Regions from separate parts of the Homo sapiens genome. Here region 1 is linked to region 2. The links are contacts of gene promoters, found by promoter capture Hi-C in blood cells and fetal thymus (Javierre and others, 2016). All regions are on one chromosome and are shown on one strand. Each heading gives the region's core, a stretch centred on a gene start or on the middle of the fragment in contact. The rest is flanking DNA. Distances are from core to core; before and after follow the strand shown.

Region 1 (2,700 bases), core at 157-2,656, 440 kb after region 2:
CCGGTTTTATTCCCGTAACCCTGCAGCTCCAACCCTGCTTGCGCCCCACCATCAGTCAGCGGATCCGGCTAGCCCCGCCCCTCCCGTTCTAGCCCCACCCACCAGCGTTGGCACGAGCCCGCCCCTCGCGCGCCACCTCCGCCTTCTCAGCCGGGCCCACTAGGAGTCCTTTCCGCCCAGCGCGCAGCTCCGGGTTTCCAGCGTCCCAGGTCGTCGCACGCACCTGGAAGATTCCGAAATCCTCCTGCTGTGCATCCTGCCGTAGGCCGTGCTTCCAAGGGATGCGGAAGCGCGTGCGGCTCTTGTTCACCCAGGCCACGCCCTCCAGTTGCCCCAGGTCCAGCTGCGACACCAGCCAGGGCAGGATCCGTGGCTTTGGGGTTCCCATGGTCCGGCCTGCGCGTATAGGGCATTTCCTGGGCGCGACCGGCCTCCCCCGGACCCACCTGGCCTGGAGTTTCCGCACCCAGACCTCCTTCTCACGGGCCACGGCACAGGTCCTTCACCCATATTTTCGGGGGTACAAACAGGAAACCTCCTCTTCCCATCCTCCCATCCTCCCGAGAGGCTCTCTAATCAGCTAGGGTTCCTTCCCATATCCATGGCACATCCTTCCCCAGCGTCTTCAGTGCAGACCCTCCACTCCCTCAATTCCGCCAGTATAGACCTCCTCCCTCCCCCACATCATCGAAAGTAAGTATCCCCACTTTCAGGGTAGCATCCTCTTTCCCTAGTTATTTCAGTGCAGAATCGATTCACGTGTAAGCCTCTACCTCCTGCACTTACCCCAATGTAGACCCCCTTCCACAGTCCCCCTACAGAAGATCTCCCAAAACATTTCCAACACAGAACTTCCATTCAATTCCCCTCCGACTGCCCGCCTCCCTCCTCCAGGACAGAGCACGCCCCAGGTTTCGAGACTGAACTACCCCCATCTACGGAGTCCACCCCTCCCTCTCTAGAACCCCCTCAGTGTAGACGCCTCCTCTTTTCCTCTTTCCTCCCTACTTTTTCTAGTTTTTCTGCAGCCGACCTCCAGCGTCGGCCACTGTAGCTCCTTCCTTGCTCCACTTTCCCCAGAGTACACAGCCTGCCTTTCCACTCTCCGTGCAGACCCATCCTCTTTCCCGCTCCTCGCTCTCGGACGCCACCAACGCTCTCCCGGGCTCTTCCGCGTTACCTACGATGGAAGGTCGGGGCGTGCGGGCAGCTGGAACCCACCCCTGTCTTGGAGCTCCGGGTAGCTCTCAAACTCGAGGCTGCGCACCCCCTTTCCCGTCAGCTGAGCTCTAGAGCGCTGGGGCTTTCTTTTTGATCGACTTCTTGAAATAAAACCAACTTTATCATTCTTTGGGTAACAGACCCAAAAGCCGATGGGACGGCCCGCTGGGCTGTTCCCGCCCCTATGCCCTTTTTTGGGTTTCCGGCCAGAGGCATGCTGGGAGCGTCACATGCAAATTGAGCGTGCACCCAGCGTTCCGCCCTTTCTACGCTGGGCCGGTTATCGACCCGGCCCAGTGCGCAGGCGCGGGAAAGTTGAACTAATAAAGTTTGTACGAGTTCAGTGGAGGAGACCGCAAGTTGAGTGGAGGAGGCGGCGGTGGGGCCCCGGACCAGGTCAGCGGGGTGTTGACGAGGGGTGGGGTGAGGAGGGAAGAGGAGGGGGCCGGGATCCAGTGGTGGGCACCCCAGTCCCGCTTCTCTGATATCCAAGGGTCCAGGGTCCTCTAGATTCCAGCAGGGGTCGGAGATTTGGAACTACACCTCACAGCAGGCTGCGCGGCGAAGAAGCGCGGACCTAGGGGAAGATTTGCCCTGAAACCTCTTGGGATTGGTAGTTCCCGATGCTTTAAGGGTTTCAGGAGTTTGGCATATGCCTCTTATAGAATCCAGGAGTTGGGGCGCTAAGCCTCTTCTTCCTGGGAGACCTAAGGGTCTGGGGCTCCAGTTCCTTTTTCTCTAAGACTCAGAAGTCCAGGACCCCAGCTCCCTCCTCCTTTAGACCCACGAATCTGGGCACCCAGCCCCACCACCTTTCCTTGGATCGAAGAGTCTTTTTCCTGATCGCTTTTTCGTCTGAGGACTCAAGAGTCTAGGCCCCCAGACCCACACTCTCCAAAGGACCCAGGAGTCCAGGCCCTCAGCACCTTCCTTGGGACTCACAAGTCCTGGTCCCCAAGCCTCCACTTCTTGCTAAACCCTTGGAGTCCAGTCCCTAACCCTCTCTCTCACAGGTGCCTCCATGGCAGGCTCTGAAGAGCTGGGGCTCCGGGAAGACACGCTGAGGGTCCTAGCTGCCTTCCTTAGGCGTGGTGAGGCTGCCGGGTCTCCTGTTCCAACTCCACCTAGGTAAGAGGAGTGGCCCTTCTCCCCCAGGGGCCAGCATTTGAGGCTCCCTCCTAACTCTTGCTCCTGGTCTCAGTCTGTCTCCTCTCTTTATATCTGGCTCTATTCTCTGTCTTTGGGGTTTTGGAGAGAGGTCCTCAGCGGGGGAGGGAGGGAGTTGGGGAAAGAGACTGCTTGCAGGGGATCTCTGGTGGGGTCAGTCTCTGAAGTCCTCCTCTCCAGAAGCCCTGCCCAAGAAGAGCCAACAGACTTCCTGAGCCGCCTTCGAAGATGTCTTCCCTGCTCCCTGGGGCGAGGAGCAGCCCCCTCTGAGTCCCCTCGGCCTTGCTCTCTGCCCATCCGCCCCTGCTATGG
Region 2 (2,700 bases), core at 50-2,549:
TATTTATTTATTTTTTGAGACAGATGCTCTGTTGCTCAGGCTGGAGTGCAGTGGTGCCATCTCGGCTCACTGTAACCTCTGCCTCCTGGGTTCAAGCGATTCTCCTGCCTCAGCCTCCCAAGTAGCTGGGATTATAGGCGTCACCATGCCTAGGTGATTTTTGTATTTTTAGTAGAGATAGGTTTCACCATGTTGGCCAGCTGGTCTCGAACCCCTGACCTCAAGTGATCCACCCGTCTTGGCCTCCCAAAGTGGGGGGATCACAGGCGTGAGCCACCACACCCGGCCGCACACACTTTACTCAGGCCGTTTGGTCACTGAATGTGGCAGTCCCAGAAGAGGCTTCATCTCTTCTTGGCTGCATCTTGGATAGTCCCTGAGACAGAAGTGTTGGAGGAGTTACAGAGACCCGAGGTCAGGAGATCGAGACCATCCTGGCTAACATGGTGAAACCCCGTCTCTACTAAAAATACAAAAAATTAGCCGGGCTTGGTGGCGGGCGCCTGTAGTCCCAGCTACTCAGGAGGCTGAGGCAGGAGAATGGCATGAACCCGGGAGGCGGAGCTTGCAGTGAGCCGAGATCACACCACTGCACTCCAGCCTGGGTGACAGAGCAAGACTCCGTCTCAAAAAAAAAGTACAATTTTGCCCGCTGACCATTGTTGGGAATGATGCATCTTTCTTTCCGCTGGACAGCCTGGTGGTCATGCCCTCCAGATGGCAGTTGAGTCCTGAGGGGGCCAAGTAGGGGATTCAAACTAATGCTGGTTTAGGCACCAGAATCCCCTTGTTGGACCGACATGGTGCTAGATCAGGAGTTGGCACACTATAGCCTGTGGGATACATCTGGCCTGTGACCTGTTTCTGTGTGGTCTATAAACTAACAAAGCTTTTCATATATTTTAAAGAATGTGTTGTTGTTGTTGTTGTTGTTGTTGTTTTTGAGATGGAATCTCGCTTTGTCGCCCAGGCTGGAGAGCAGTGGTATGATCTTGGCTCACTGCAAGCTCCGCCTCCTGGGTTCACGCCATTCTCCTGCCTCAGCTTCCCGAGTAGCTGGGATTAAAGGTGCCCGCCACCATGCCCGGCTAATTTTTGTATTTTTAGTAGAGACGGGGTTTCTCCATGTTGGCCGTCCTGGTCTTGAACTCCTGACCTCAAGTGATCCACCTGCTTCAGCCTCCCAAAGTGCTGGAATTACAGGCGTGAGCCACGGCTCAGCCAAGAATTGTTTAAAAAAAAAAAAAAAAAAAAAAAGCCAGGTGTGGTGGCTCACCTCTGTAATCCTAGCACTTGGGGAGGCTGAAGCAGAAGGATCACTTGAGCCCAGGAGATCAAGACTAGCCTGGGCTATGTGGTGAAAGCCTGTCTCTACAAAAAATTAAAAATTAGCTGGGTGTGCTGGTGCACGCCTGTAGTCCCAGCTACTCGGGAGGCTGAGGTGGGAGGATCGCTTGAGCCTGGGAGGTCGAAGCTGCAGTGAGATATTATTGTACCACAGCTCTCCAGCCTCAGTGACAGAGCAAGATCTTGTTTCAAAAAGAAAAAAGAAAAAGATGACTATGCCACAGAAAACAAATGCCCTACAAAACCCAAAATACTATTACCTGGTTCTTTCCAGAAAAAGTTGGCTCACTCCTGTGTTAGTTGAAACAACCTGCTGATATTACTTATGTGGCTTAACTGAGACAATGTAACGGTAATTCCAGCCAAGCTTAACAACAAAATCCAATGACTGTCTCTTCTCAGGTTGGGGAGGTAAGCTGTGGCATGCCCATTGTGGATGGGGGTTGCTTTTAGGCTCATCTGTTGTCACCCTGTAATTGTTTGTAAAGACATCAAAGATCAGATCAGTTTTTTTATTTTTAAATTTCTTTTTTTGGTATTTTAGCAGATCAGCCTAAAGTTCTCTGCTCTGCTTATAATGGACAATAGAGTCGCCTTAGACTATATCCTGGTTGTCCAAAATAAGATGTACTGGTCCTCTGGGACCAGTTTTTACTTTTTTTTTTTCTGAGATGGAGTTTCACTCTTGTTGCCCAGGCTGGAGTGTAATGGCATGATCTCAGCTCGTTGCAACCTCTGCCTCCCGGGTTCAAGCGATTCTTCTGCCTCAGCCTCCCAAGTAGCTGCGATTACAGGCATGTGGCACCATGCCCGGCTAATTTTGTATTTTTAGTAGAGACGTGGTTTCTCCATGTTGATCAGGCTGGTCTTGAACTCCTGACCTGAGGTGATTCCCCCTCCTCGGCCTCCCAAAGTACTGGGATTACAGACGTGAGCCACCACACCTGGACTTTTATTTTTTTTTTATTTTAATTTTATTGTATTAGAGACAGGGTCTTGCTCTGTCACCTAGGCTGGAGTACAGTGGCGTGATCTTGGCTCACTGCAACCTCAACCTTCTGGGTTCAGGGGATCCTCCCGCCTCAGCCTCCCAAGTAGCTAGGATTACAGGTGTGCCACCACTTCTGGCTAATATTGTTTTTGTATTTTTTGTAGAGATGGGCCTTCACTACGTTGCCCAGGCTGATCTTGAACTCCTAAGATTAAATGATCTGCCGGTCTCAGCCTCCCAAACTGCAGGGATTACAGGCATGAGCCACCTTGAGACTTATTCACAGTTGGCTGAGTCTAGGACCCTGGGGGACATAGTTGAGAGTTGAGGTCAATACTCAAGGTTGGCCTGATCTTGCTGTT

The links. The method cuts DNA at HindIII sites, captures the fragments that hold promoters and counts their contacts. A CHiCAGO score of 5 or more calls a contact.
Region 1: a contact is called between the fragment with the promoter of IRF3 here and a fragment that was not itself captured in region 2, in 1 of 17 cell types (naive CD4 T cells). The highest score is 5.6, in naive CD4 T cells.

Annotation. Positions count from the first base shown.
Region 1 is chr19:49,664,451-49,667,150 of GRCh38, forward strand. It overlaps IRF3 (interferon regulatory factor 3), which reads right to left and starts at 1,407. Exons shown (of 8, transcript NM_001571.6): 1 at 1,181-1,407; 2 at 224-396. The coding sequence starts at 388. It overlaps BCL2L12 (BCL2 like 12), which reads left to right and starts at 1,483. Exons shown (of 7, transcript NM_138639.2): 1 at 1,483-1,617; 2 at 2,235-2,349; 3 at 2,569-2,700. The coding sequence starts at 2,243. RefSeq lists silencers at 1,386-1,535, 1,576-1,655. The HindIII fragment of the contact is 30,887 bases long and covers 1-2,700 here.
Region 2 is chr19:49,226,417-49,229,116 of GRCh38, forward strand. All of the region lies in intron 1 of LOC107985340 (a long non-coding RNA gene), which reads left to right. Among named protein-coding and RNA genes, the nearest start is that of TRPM4, 70 kb to the left of the region's middle. The HindIII fragment of the contact is 825 bases long and covers 888-1,712 here.